4 separate regions of the Homo sapiens genome follow, and regions 2, 3 and 4 are each linked to region 1. Evidence: promoter capture Hi-C in human tissues and cell types (Jung and others, 2019). All regions are on one chromosome and are shown on one strand. The core of a region is centred on a gene start or on the middle of the fragment in contact, and the rest is flanking DNA. Distances in the headings are between cores, read along the strand shown.

The links. The method cuts DNA at HindIII sites, captures the fragments that hold promoters and counts their contacts. A contact is called where the count stands out against the background at its distance.
Region 2: a contact is called between a fragment that was not itself captured here and the fragment with the promoter of KCNK10 in region 1, in 1 of the 25 tissues and cell types used here (spleen).
Region 3: a fragment that was not itself captured here is called in contact with the fragment with the promoter of KCNK10 in region 1 in 2 of the 25 tissues and cell types used here (adrenal gland and neural progenitor cells).
Region 4: a contact is called between a fragment that was not itself captured here and the fragment with the promoter of KCNK10 in region 1, in 2 of the 25 tissues and cell types used here (adrenal gland and bladder).

What each region holds. Positions count from the first base shown.
Region 1 is chr14:88,321,454-88,324,914 of GRCh38, reverse strand. It overlaps KCNK10 (potassium two pore domain channel subfamily K member 10), which reads left to right and starts at 1,646. Exons shown (of 7, transcript NM_138317.3): 1 at 1,646-2,168. The coding sequence starts at 2,117. RefSeq lists enhancers at 1,009-1,068, 1,641-2,300 and a silencer at 1,119-1,358. The HindIII fragment of the contact is 9,751 bases long and covers 1-3,461 here.
Region 2 is chr14:88,271,224-88,274,684 of GRCh38, reverse strand. All of the region lies in intron 1 of KCNK10 (potassium two pore domain channel subfamily K member 10), which reads left to right. Among named protein-coding and RNA genes, the nearest start is that of KCNK10, 50 kb to the left of the region's middle. The HindIII fragment of the contact is 5,825 bases long and covers 1-3,461 here.
Region 3 is chr14:88,367,716-88,371,176 of GRCh38, reverse strand. No RefSeq gene overlaps it. Among named protein-coding and RNA genes, the nearest start is that of SPATA7, 16 kb to the left of the region's middle. The HindIII fragment of the contact is 5,913 bases long and covers 1-3,461 here.
Region 4 is chr14:88,288,431-88,291,891 of GRCh38, reverse strand. All of the region lies in intron 1 of KCNK10 (potassium two pore domain channel subfamily K member 10), which reads left to right. Among named protein-coding and RNA genes, the nearest start is that of KCNK10, 33 kb to the left of the region's middle. The HindIII fragment of the contact is 5,467 bases long and covers 1-3,461 here.

The DNA of each region.
Region 1 (3,461 bases), core at 397-2,896:
GTGACAGCCCAGTGACAAAGCACTCACCTTTCCCACAGACCACAGCGGACCTCTGTAGGTCTTGCTCTTGGACTCAGAAACCTTGATGTGATAGTGACGGATGGATGGTGAGAAAGATGCTGCTGACATAGGGCTCCCCAGAAGCCTCAAGGTGCCGTAGAGTAGCATGCAACTTAGAGATCAGCTGCTAGTGTGGGATTTTAGGACCCCAGCTGGCAGGCATAGGAATGAGCTGGGCAATTTCTATGCGTAAGTAAAGGCAACAACAATCTAACAGGACCTTATGGCACTAGATAGTAAGCCCCATGAAGGCAAGATCTCTGTCTTGTTCTCTGCCATATGGCCAGCACATAGCACAGTGATGGCACTTGGAAGGGGTTCAATATATATGTTGAATGAACAACAAATTTTAGTAACCTTATCTGGAAGCCAGAGTAGGGGTTTAAACTACTTCCTATCCAACACTGCAGCATGCAATTCATGTCTTCATTTAGCAAGTATTTCTTGAGCACCTACTACGTGTAAGGCTCCGTTGCGAGGCATCCGAAGCAATTTGTCAGCATCATTCATGTTGATACTCGGAGTGACCCGTTCAAGAGCACCTCAGCACCACCTGGCTTTTCTGAAGACTGAGGCCCCACCACAAACCCCTGTGGGGCTTCAAGCAGGGGCAGTGAGAGGGCGTTAGACGAATGCTCCAGGTTTAGCCCCTTTCCGGGAACAGGTCTGGGTCCCTTCGCATCTGCCCTGCTGGTCCCAGGATCCCGGGGCCGCCGCTTCCGGGAGCTGCCGGGTCTTGGCAACTCCGCTTTCCTCCGGGGGCCCCCGTGCCTCTCTCAAGCCTCCTTTCCAGCCAACGACCAGCGGCCCCAGTCCGGCTGCAGGTAGCTGGGGAAGGGACCAAGCTGTGCCTTGGGAGCGAGCTTCCCCGGGCGGGGAGAGCGCAGCAGATGCGGAGCGGTCCCAGAACAAAAGGCTCATGGCTGGCACGGGCCTCCTTGGAGTGCGGCGGGGACGTGGGTTCGGGACTCAGGCGAGAGAGCCAGACGCGGGAGGAAAAAAAATGAAGTGAGAAAAGAGAAGGAGGGAGAGCTCAGGGTGAGAGCGGTGAGAAGAGGTGACCCGGAGGCCGAGGTCTGCGGCGGAGCCGCAGCGGCCCTTCCTCCGCCTCCTGCAGCGCCTTCCAGGCAACCAAGCGTGTCTCCGGCTGCAACTCCAGCAAGCGCGCCGCTGCCGCCTCCACGCCCGCCCGCCGGCCGGCCGAGCCAGTAAGTAGCGGCGCGCCCACCGCTCGTTCCCCGCCCCTCCGCGGCTTCCCCGCCACCGCCCACCGCCTCCCGCCGCCCCGCGGGCAAGTCCGCGACCGCCTCCCGCTGCCCCGAGCCGGGTGCCGGGGGCTCAGCGCGCCTTCCCAGCTGGGAGCCTCGGTCCGCTGCTCGCCCTGCTCCCTCTTGCCGGGGCGCGGCGTCTGGGGCGCGCCGCGGGGAGGGTCGCCCTCGCCGCGCGCTGCCCGGGCGCCGCGCCACCCCTACATCCAATGGCTTTCGGGGAGCGGGAAGTGGGGGGCGTCGCCGGGGGCGAGGAGCCGCGGCCGGGGTGGGGCGTGTGCGCTCAGCGCGGCCGAGCGAGGCTGACGTGCCCGCCCAAGCGCGCGCCCGGGAGTGTGTGTGCGGGTGTGTGTGTGCGGGAGTGTGTGCGCACACGCCTTCGGGGGCTGGAGTGACACTGCAGTGGGCTTCTCCGTAGCCCCAGCCTTCAGGCTGCGCAGCCCCTAACCTGCCGGCACCGCTTTTGGGAAGCAGCTTGGCTCTTCCATCTCCCCAAGCCTTCCTCTCCATCCTTTCATCCACCCCTCGCCGATCTTACTTTTTCTTTTACCCACGGGGCCGCGGCCGGCCACCCCCTGGCCGGTGCAAACACCCAAGCCCTCTCCAGTTCTCCCCCAAGCTAATATTTTCCCACCTGTCTTTTTCTGGGGTTCCTCCACGAGCCAGTCCAAGGCTCCCCCATCCTCGGAAATTGTTTTGTTGGACTGCTAAACCGAGGCGTGTAAAGCTTGAGGACTTTATTATTATTTGGGTTCTTTTCATTTCTTCCCCTTCTGGGCAACGAAGCAATGAAATTTCCAATCGAGACGCCAAGAAAACAGGTGAACTGGGATCCTAAAGGTGGGTGTTTCCTACTTTTGGCTGCCCTCGCCCTGCCTCTGTCTCCGGCGTGTGCGCGCTTCCTTGAGTGGAAGCACTCTTGCTTCTGGCAGCGTGTGTCCTGAGGCTGGGAAATGCGCCTGGGAACTGCAGCGCGGGTGGGAGGAGGGCGGAGGCAGCGTGGGTTCCGAACCCAGATAGTGCCTGTCATTACCACATAATCATTGTCCCTCCTAGATTGTCTCCAGATCTATTTAGATAGACCAAGCCGACTGTTTGGTTTGAAATTGCAAGTGTCGGTATTTGCTTTTGACTTTGAGTGTGCGAGTGTGTGTGTGTGTGTGTGTGTGTGTGTGTGTCCTTTGTTTCTGGTGATCTTTGTCTCTCTGGCAGATGGGTGGGGTGCTTCCCCCTGGACCTGGAGCTGCGCCGCATGCCCGGGTGTCCTCAGTGGGAAAGGTTTCCTGGCAGCAAGTGGGGCTCGAGTTGCAGCAGCCGTCCCTAGGGGTGGGCCGTTCTCGCAGGGCATGCAGAATAATGGAGCCCACAGGGCCTCCTGAGTCTTCGTTCAATCTTATTACCAAACCTAGCAGCTAGTTAGGCTCAGGTCAGAGTAGAAGCAGGAGGAGGGGTGGTTTGTGAGAAGGGTGGGGCTGGCAAGGCATAGGGGAGGGGCACGAAGTGTGCCCGCCCAAGCAATGGTGTGGTTTGCATGCTTTTACGAATGTTGGACCAGGTTTCATCCACGCAAAAGGGAGGGATTAAGACGGATTTGTGTGTGCCTAGCGTCGGCCACCGTGTCTGTAATTAGCATACAGATGTTAAGGCTCCAAGGGAGTGATCAGTATGAGAGCAGAACAAGTTGGAACCGCGTGTCCAGTTGTGACAAGAATGCTCTTTAGCATTTCTTGTAGCTCATCTGACGACTGTGTCAGGCTAGGCAACGCCTCTGTGTGTATTGGAATTGAAATTTGTTTATTTGGGGTGCGTGTGTGTTTAATGTTCTTTATGAGCGCATTTCTTCTTTTTCTCCAGACTGGAAAGAAGAAACCATCTTATTTGTTGAGTAAATGTCTTAGGAATTGACTGGCTATTGAAGAGTGAGTGAAGAGATACTGCCTTTTTAAAACACTGAGGCTGTTACATCTTAAATACAGCCCAAACCTTCTATTTTGTCTCTACTTGAAATCTCTGGAAATATGGAGGTGTGCCTTTGCTTTTTTGGGGGGAGAATCCCTGAAAAGCATATTTGTTAAATACCTATTACATGCTAAACACTGTCCTAAGCTCTGGAGATACAGTCAGAACAGGAAA
Region 2 (3,461 bases), core at 618-3,117, 50 kb after region 1:
TAATCGAAGTACCTCTAGCTATTTGTTATCACCATTATTGGGTGGGACACAGCGAACAGATTTCTTAAAGCTAGGGAATTATGCAATAGGACATGTTACGGACTTAAGCCATAAGATCTTTTTTTTTTTTTTTTTAGATAGAGTCTCACTCTGTCACCCAGGCTAAAGTGCAGTGGTGCAATGTCGACTCACTGCAACCTCCTCCTCCCAATTCTCCTGCCTCAGCCTCCTGAGTAGCTGGAATTACAGCGTGCGCCACCATGCCTGGCTAATTTTTGTATTTTTAGTAGAGACAGGGTTTTGGCATGTTGGCCAGGCTGGTTTGGAAAGGATCTTTCTAATAGGCCAAAAAATATTTTTCAGTTTTGCTTTCTACTGTGGATCTGTAGATCCACAGTATAACTACTTATGGTCTATTTGCTTGTGATTGCAGATACTGAAGGAGTTTGCTGGGAAGGGAGAAGTGTGTGTGGAAGAAGAGGGGAGGGCTGGAGAAGTGAGATGAGCCCTGAGCACACGGGACATTGGAGGCCAGGGAAAGAACCATGGCGGTGCTTGTGGAGTTTTAATAGGTGCAAGCTGGGAATTTCAGAAGGCTCACCTGGCTGCTGAGTGGAGCCTAGGGCAGGGTGGGGGGTGGGGGGAGACCCCTCCGGGAGCCAGTGAGGAGAGATAACTGCTTTTGACAAGACACCTGGGAAAGACATCTGGAAGGAATGGCGTTGACAATAAGATTTAAAACCCTTGGCCCCAGGGAAAGGGGATATTTTGAGAACTATGACTGCTTGTATTACTTTTAATCCCAAGAGGAGGATAAAGGTCTTTCCTGTATAAAGTGCGCTAGTTAATTTAAATTGTGGAGGAAAAAACTTAGGGCAAGAGACAGAATATGATATTCAGGAAGCATTTTGGAAAAAGACACAAGGAACCCCAGCTGTGGCTGTGTGCACCTTTAGGGCCTTGATCATGGAGGCAGGATAAAGAAGTCCATCTCGTCAACATGGCGGAGTCAGAGTCTATTGGGAGAATCACGAGGTAGGCAGCTCTAAATCCCAAAAGATGGTGGTCCAGTCGGATATGCCTGGGCTGCTCTGACCAGCTCAGCACACACAAGGAATAGCTCTGGTCCTGGGCAATTTGTGCCCTGGGTCGGAGGGTGAGAGTTTATTTTATCGGAACAATAAAGGCATCCCACCTGCTACCAGGAGCAACCAAAAATGCTCAGAAGTTCTGGAACAGGAGTGCTGTTGAACAGGGTTTCCTGGCAGCCCGAGATAGAAAGTGGTAAAAACAGCAAAATGCTGCTATGGTATAGTACTGAAGTCATCAGGCACACACTGAGACTTCCTGTGGGTCAGGCCTTGTGAATGGTGCTGGAGACAGAGACTGGGATAAGATCTACCATCTCTGATGCTGACGCCCAGCCCAGTTCTCCCCTTTTCCTCTCTAGTTTTTTCTTTCTCTGTCATGCATCCCCCTCCCTTTGCTGTCCCTTAAATGTTGCTCCCTTGAGCATCATCTTTTACTCTCTTCTCATTTTACATCTCCCTCTGGACCACTTCATCCAGTCCTGTGGCTTCAGTACCACTTACATACTCATCACTCTTAAATCTAGGGATTCAGCTAGATTATTCCCCTGAGTTCTGGTCCCTTATGCCTCATGTTAACTGGATAGCTCCACCTGGATGGGCTACAGGAGCTGCACACCTAACTCTCCTGCATTTTCTGTCTTGCAGAGCATGATACTGTTATAAGCTTATAAGAGTCATCCCAGACGCCTCCTTTCTTCCTTTGCATCCATCACTAGGACCCGCACATTTTACTTCCTTAACACGCCTTGTCTCTGACTCCTCCTCTGCTGCTGCCTGAGTTGAGGCCTCATAATACATTCCAGTAAACTCCTACCCACACCCCCCACAGACGATCTCTCACTTGCTGCATGTCTCTTACGCACTGCTGCCAGAGTCAGCTTGCTAAACCCAGGTCTGACCCCCTGGCTCTTCTCCCTGTGTTAGCCTTGATGGCTTCCCACGCTCATTAATAAGACCAACAAGAGCCACACTCTCTCCTCTGCTTGTCTTTGCAGCTTTATTTTGGTGTAGCCATCTTCACACCCTCTAGTCCTGACACGCAGACCTGAGGTAATTTCCCAAATGCCCCAGGCTGATTCATGGCTGAGTGTCTTTGTATCTGTTGCCCCCCCATTGCTGTTCCGCCTTCCTCTCCACCTCCTTCTGCCCTCTCGCAGACACCTAATGCCCTTTCCACACCAGTGGGCACCTTGTCTTTGCATTCTCGTCTCCTCTTCGGTGGCACTGACACTCTCTCTTCATGTCTTTCTGTCCCCCACACCTCTGTCAAACACAGCATCTGCACGCTTTGTTGCATTTGCTTGCATAGAACACGTAGTTTTCTTCACCTCCTAATAATGTGGACAGCTCACGTTGATTGAGGACTTGCTTTGAACAAGGCATTGAGCAACATGCCGTACATTTTATGTTAAATCTTCCCAATAGTGCTACTGCTTCTGTCCCTTTCCAGGGAGGAGGAAGGAGGCTTGGAGAAGGGACTGTCTTTTAGGAGCCCTGCCCAGTGTTTCCTGTGGAGGGTGGGGCCATCGTGGAAGACAGACCTATGGTAGGGGTAAGCTGGGTGGCTGTTGAAGTCCAACCTTCCCCCTGCTTCCTCTAACCCTGATAACCTTGTTCTCTGGGGCCTGTCTGCTAGTGGAGAGGCTTCTGACTTTTTTTTTTTTTTTGCCATACCTTTGGTTTATAAATACAAGAAGAGATTTGGGGAAAAATCAGGGGAAACTGTCGAGCTTACAAGTCCCGAGAAGGAAGTCACTGCTCCTTTAAGTCTCATGTGAACCCCTTGTTCTCTCCCCAGCTTGTGGGGTGAAAGAAAAGCCCTTTAGTCTTTTGGGTCCTCAAATCACAGTTTATGCAGTTTGGCCCCAGTCAGAGGGACCCCAGGAAGGCAGACTCAGGGTAAATTCTGCCTGTCTTCCACCAGAGAGGGGACTCACCAAGTGTGACTCATGCCATTCAATAGAATTTTTAAAATCTCACAAGTATTTTGTACCCCTGAGTAAAAGAGAGGCTTGTAGCTCTTCATGAAGGAACAAGAAAGGCCCGAACTGAGTGTTTGGAGCCCAGTGAAGTAAAATACTGCCCTGTCTCTTGTCTGTCCACTCTAGCGCTTGTACAAACCATGAAGAACTCTCTTTGGACTGTTTGCTTTTTGAGAATGTTAACACCTTGACTCTGGATTTCTGCCTATGGGAAAAAACCACAATAGTGCCAGGGGTGCTTCCATATGCAGGATTAACTCTGCAGTCAAAGTTTCTGTTGGGCAGGTGTGTGAACTTGATACCATAAATGCTGGCCCAAAGCAAATGGGAGAATGGATGAATGAACAAATTCAGGAATGAAACAAACTGTAACCAGGGGTCTCCTAGT
Region 3 (3,461 bases), core at 722-3,221, 46 kb before region 1:
ATGTTCGTCTCTAAACTGATTATTCTAGTTAGCAATTCCTCTAACCTTTTATCAGCATTCTTAGCTTCCTTGCAGTGGTTTAGAACATGCTCCTTTAGCTCAGAGGAGTTTGTTATTACCCACCTTCTGAAGCCTACTTCTGTCAATTTGTGAAACTCATTCTTTGTCCAATTTTGTTCCTTTGCTGGCAAAGAGTTGTGATCTTTTGGAGGAGAAGAGGCATTCTGGTTTTTGGAATTTTCAGCCCTTTTGCAGTGGTTTTTCCTCATCTTCATAGATTTATCTACCTTTAGTCTTTGCTGTCGGTGACCTTCGCATGGGGTTTTTCAGTGGTCGTTCTTTTTGTTGATGTTGACGCTATTGCTTTCTTTGTATTAGTTTTCCTTCTAACGGTCAGTCCCCTCTTCTGCAGGCCTTCTGGAGTTTTCTGGAGGTCCACTCCAGATCTTGTTTGCCTGGGTATCACCAGTGGAGGCTGCAGAACAGCAAAGATTGCTGCCTTCTCCTTCCTCTGGAAGCTTTGTCCCAGAGGGGCACCTGCCAGATGCCAGCTGGAGCTCTCCTGTATGAGGTGTCTGTTGACCCCTGCTGGAAGGTGTCTCTCTGTCAGGAGGCACTAGGATTAGGGACCCACTTGAGAAGGCAGTCTGTCCCTTAGCAGAGCTCAAGTGCTGTGCTGGGAGATCTGCTGCTCGCTTCAGAGCTGGCAGACAGGAATGTTGAAGTCTGTTGAAGCTGTGCCCACAACCGCCTCTTCCCTCAGTTGCTCTGTCCCAGGGAGATGGGAGTTTTATCTATAAGCCCCTGACTGAGGCTGCTGCCTTTTGTTCAGAGATGCCTTATCCAGAGAGGAGGAATCCAGAGAGGCAGTCTGCTGCAGTGGCTTTTTGGCATTGTGGTGGGCTCTGCCCAGTCCGAACTTCCTGGCAGCTTTGTTTACACTGTGAGGGGCAAACCACCTACTTAAGCCTCAGTAATGGCAGATGCCCCTCCCCTCATCAAGCTGGAGCATCCCAGGTCGACTTTAGACTGCTGTGCTGGCAGGGAGAATTTCAAGCCAGTGGATCTTAGCTTGTTGGGCTCTGTAGGATGGGATATGCTGAGCAAGACCACTTGCCTCCCTGGCTTCAGCCCCTTTTCCAGAGGAGTGAACGGTTCTGTCTCGCTGGCATTCCAGGCACCACTGCGGTACAAAAACAAAACAAAACAAACAAAAAAAAAAACTCCTGCAGCTAGCTCAGTGTCTGCCCAAATGGCCACCCAGTTTTGTGCTTGAAACCCAGGGCCCTGGTGGTATAGGCACCCAAGGGAATCTCCTGGTCTGTGGGTTGTGAAGACCATGGGAAAAGCGTTGTATCTGGGCTTGATAGCACTGTCCCTCACAGCAGAGTCCCTCATGGCTTCCCTTGGTCAGGGGAGGAAGTTCTCCAACCTCTTGTGCTCCCTGGATGAGGCAATGCCCCATCTTTCTTCTGCTTGCTCTCTGTGGGCTGCACCCACAGTCTAACCAGTTCCAATGAGATGAACTGGGTACTTCAGTTGGAAATGCAGAAATCACCCACCTTCTGCATTGGTCTGGCTGGAAGCTGCAGACTGGAGCTGTTCCTATTTGGCCATCTTGCCAATCATCTGTCTAGTACTTACAGGCTAATTTTTGCAAGTCAATATTACAATAGCTTATAAATACCAATTACAATAGCTACAAATAAAATACAATATCTAGCAATTAATTTATCCAAAGAACTGAAAGATCTCTGTAGTGAAAACTATAAAAGAAATTGATGAAAGAAATTGAGGAGGACATGAGAAAATGAAAAGATATTCCATGTTCATGGATTGGAAAAATTGATGTTGTTAAAATGTCTATACTACCGAAAACAATCTACAGATTCAATACAATCTCTATCAAAATACCAATGACATTCTTCACATAAATGAAAAAACGATCCTAAAATGTATATGCAACCACAAAAGACCCAGAATAGCCAGAGCTATCCTAAGCAAAAAGAGCAAAACTGGAGCAATCATATAATCTGACTTCAAATTATACTACAGAGCTATAGTAACCAAAATAGCATGATTCTGGCATAAAAACAGACACATAGACTGGTGGAACAGAATGAAGAGCCCAGAAATAAATCCATACGTTTATGCTAACTCATTTTCAACAAAGGTTTCAAGAACACGCATTGGGAAATTGACAGTCTCTTCAATAAATGGTTCTGGGAAAACAGGTTATCCATATGCAGAAACTAAACATCTATCTCTCACCATATAACAAAATCAAGTCAAAATGCATTTAAGTAATAAATCTAACACCTCAAACTATGAAACTACTACAAGAAAACATTGGGGAAACACCAGGACATTGGTCTGGGCAAAGACTTTTTGGGCAATACCCCATTAGCACAGGCAACCAAAGCAAATATAGACAAATGGGATTACATCAAGTTATAAAGCTTCTGCACAGCAAAGGAAAAAATAAAGTGAAGAGACAACCCACAGAATGGGAGAAAAGATTTGCACACTATTCCTCTGACAACGGATTAACAACTAGAATATCTAAGGAGTTCAAACAACTCAATAAGAAAGAAAAATCTAATAAACTAATTAAAAAGTGTGCAGAATATCTGAATAGGCATTTCTCAAAAGAAGACATACAAATGGCAAACAGGTATATGAAAGTATACTCTGGGCAAAGATTTCATCAAAGACACTAGAAGCAATTGCAACAAAAGCAAAAATTGACAAAAGTAATCTAATTAAAGAGCTTCTGCACAGCAAAAGAAATTATCAACAGGGTAAACAAGCAACCTACAGAATGACAGGAAATTTTTGCAAACTATGCATCTGACAAAGATCTAGTATTCAGCATCTATTAGAAATTTAAACAAATTTACAAGAAAAAAACAAAGAACCTCATTAAAAAGTGGGCAAAAGACATGAACAGATACTTCTCAAAAGAAGGCATTCATGTGGTCAACAAGCATATGAAAAAAATCTCAACATCACTGATCATTAGAGAAATGCAAATCAATTCAAAACCACAATGAGATAACATCTCACACCAGTCAGAATGGTGATTATTAGAAAGTCAAAAAATAACAGATGCCAGTGAGGTTGTAGAGAAAAAGGAACACTTGTACACTGTTGGTGGGAGTGTAAATGAGTTCAACCATTCTGGAAGACAGTGTGGAGATTCCTCAAAGATCTAAAGTCAGAAACACCATTCAACCCAGCAATATCATTACTAGGTATATACCCAAAGGAATATAAGTCATTCTATTATAAAGATACATGCATGCATATGTTTATTGCAGCACTATTCATGATAGCAAAGAGATGGAATCAACCCAAATGCCTATCAGTGATAGACTGTATAAAGAATGTGGACATGTACACCATGGAATACTATGCAGCCATAAAAAAGAACAAGATGATGTCGTTTGTAGGGACATAGA
Region 4 (3,461 bases), core at 263-2,762, 33 kb after region 1:
GTAGCTTCTGACCCCATCCAGTGCCTACTTGGCCCAGGAGAAACCATTAGGCATCTTTGTGCTGCCATATATGGGGAAAGCACGTGACTCCACTGTTGCCTACCCTCCTCAGCCTGCATTACAGGCCAAACACTGCGCACCCATGTCTGATTTTCCCAGGGCCGTCTCATTGCACACCTCCAGAGGGCATCATTCACATGTGTTCTCCTAGAATTGCACAGTTAATGTGGCAGCCCTGAGTTCAGACAAATCTCTCATGCCCCTACCTGTAGCAGTGCATTCTATGAAGTATGCAGTTCAGCAGGCACCCAGCTGGGGTTCCAGATGCTGAGACCCCCTTCTGCCAACCCCTCTGATCTCTGAGCAGTTCTCTTTCTGCTCCTTCATTTGCCATAGTGCTGCAATGCTATGTGTTCTTTTCTGCTAAGAAATGCTTTTTCTCCAGCGAATTCTCTTATATGGCTTAGAGATCATATGCAAGCTCTGCATTGATGGATCCTCAGTCTTCAGTTTTGAGAGATCTCAGTATAAACCCCAAGACAACAGGAAAGGGCTCACTTAACATTGCCTTGTAACAGAGAAACCCTCTCTTTGAATGAAAGCTGTCAGGGAAGCTCAGTATATAAAGCAGGTGACATGGTGCTCCATTGGGGTGGTGGGGAACGAGGGGCGGGGTGCTCAAGGCTGGCTTCTGTGCACAGTTAGAAAACTCCTGTGCCTGAGAAAGCCAACCGTGGTTTCCACGACCAGGAGTTTCCCACTATTTACAGTTCTGCAGTGTTTGGCTTCTTCATGATTTTCTGCTGGTGAAAGCAATAGTTTGTACAAGACGTGTGGGAATAAAAATAGTCCAGGTGCTGCCCTTTTCCGCGGCAGAGGGACCACCTGTCAGGCTGCCCTAGTGGGCCTCTTCCCACAGCACGGTTCTGCCACTTGAATACCTCCCTGCCTGTTTCCTGACGCTGACCTAGAAGCTTCTGGTGAATGCTTTGCTTCTGCACAACTTGCATGGTGGGTGCCTTTTTTTTGTGAATGAAAAGGTCTTCCTCTGGCTCTGAATATAGCAACTGCATGACCTGCAGAAATAATTTTGTTGTTTCCTTGTGGCCATGTTAGCTTAGGGCTTTGTACCTTATAGGGACATTGGCAAGAATTTTCTCAAAAGGTTTTCATCTGTAAATTTTCATCTTTGCACATAGTAGAGAGCTTAGAACGTCAGTCTCGTTCCATCTGTTATAAGTTTTGAGGCTTTGGGCAAAGTACCTAACTTCCCTGTGCCTCGATTTCTCCATCTGTAACACTGGAGCAAGAGTAGAACCTCCATCCTGGTCTGCGGTGAGGCTTAGTGAGGGCATTCATGTGAAATGTACACAGTGCCTGGCACAGAGCAAGCACCCAGAACATGTTACTAATTGCATTAGTTTCCTCTTGCTGCTATAACAAGTTGCACAAACTGCATAGCTTAAAACAACACAAGTTTATCATATCATTCTGCATGTTAGACTTCCTAAGTGGGTCATATGGGGCTAAAATCAAGGTGTCCACAGGGCTGTTTCCTTCTGGGGGCTTTAGGGAGAATCCTTCCCTTGCCTTTTCCAGCTTCTAAAGGCTGCTCATGTTTCTTGGCTCATGGCTGCACCACTGTAACCTTTGCATCTGTCCTCACATGCCTCCTCTCTCTGGCCCTCCCGCTCCCCCTTGTGATTACACTGGACCCACCCAGATAATCCAGGATCATCTCCTGATCTCAAGATCTTAATCACATCAGCAAAATCCCTTTGTCGTGTAAAGTAGTAAAGTAATGTGCTCACAGGTTCCAGGGATCAGGACATGGACATCTTTGGGGGACCGAACATTATCCTGCTGATCCTACCAATTATTTAAAAAGTTGTCCTGTAAGTATCTACAGTGTGCCTCTGCTGTGTGCTGGGCATACAAGGTGAATAAGACACAATGCTTATGCCAAAATAGATACACAAGCACGATGCCCTTAGTAATAATCACAGTAGCTGACATTTACTGAGTATTTACTATGTGCCAGGCATTGTGCCAGGCACTTCAAGTGAATTATCTTGCTGAAATCTCACCATGGCACTAAGGGAAAGGTATAATTTCCATTTTAAGGATAAGAACACTGAGGCTTAGAGAGCTTAAGTATTTTTTCTCAAGGCCACAGAGCTAAGGACATGAGCTCAGGTCTATCTGATTCTAAGCTTGAACAATTCATCACAGCCCCCTTAAAAGATGGGTGGGTTTACCCTCAGGCTCTCTTCTTCACTGTGTGTGTAGCTAAAGATTGGCCAGCTTAAGAGGAGCAGATCACACAAGCAGCTATGATGAGGGCCAGTGGGCAGAGCTCCCAGAGGAGGCTGATGCAACATTGCTCCCATTCCTGCCATCACCCAAAGCTGCAAGTCCATGGCCCTGGCACTTGGGCAAATGTTGCCTTGTCTTCAAGTGAATCTAAAAAACTGTGTAAGGGCATGATTAATTCCACCAAACTGGATTCTCCCCAAGATCACTTACACCACACTAATGGGGCCCTGCTTCAGCCTGAGGAACTGTGTGAATAAAAGAGAAGAAGCCCAGTGAGATTCTTCTTTCATGATTAATAGAAAAACCACCTGGTGACTTTAAAAGGCAAAGAAGGAGGTACATTCAGATGAGTCAGAAAGAAAAGGCAGCATTTGAATCCTAAAGGCCATGTTACTCTTGATCTTCTCCAGGATTTCCTTTAGGGAAATGGAAATTTTTACATGGAGGGCAGAGGTGGGGTGAAGGTTGGACTGTAGACTGAGTGGTGTTATAATGAGACCAACCCGGGTGCTGGGTTGAATCATATATTCTAGATGGGAAGTTTATATTCTAATGAGGGAGACACACAGGGAATGAGCAAATCAGTACAGAATACAATCTCAGCTAGCACTAAGTTGCTTTGAGGAAAATCAAGCCAGGTGGTGGGCTAGGAAGAGACTGGAGGGGAGAATGGCCCTTCTGCAGTGGGGTGGTGAGGAAGGAAGTCCTCGCTGAGGAGGCAGCATTGAGCACTGAGAGGGAGCTACCCTGTAAGGCCCTGGGCAAGACTGTTCCAGGTTGAGGGAACAACACACGTGCAGTCCCTGAGACTAGAGCTAACTTGGACAAATGAGAAGACCAGTGTGGCTGGGCGGTATTGAGGGACAGATGGTAGGAGATGAAGGTGGAGAAGTGGGCCATGGCCAGAATTTGGGGATCTAAGGACAGGAGTTTGGAGGTTCCTCAGGGAGTTGTGGGAACCCTCTGGAAGGTTTTCAGCATGCAGTGGAGGGATCGAATTTACATTTTGGCAGGCAGGTTAGGACACTGTTGTGCAGAAACAACAATGGCTAATGGGCTGGTTGAGGTGGGAATGAAAGAAGTGGTGGAATGAAATCAGGATGTATTTGGAAGGGAGAGTTGGCTGGACTGGCTGTGGGTGTCAG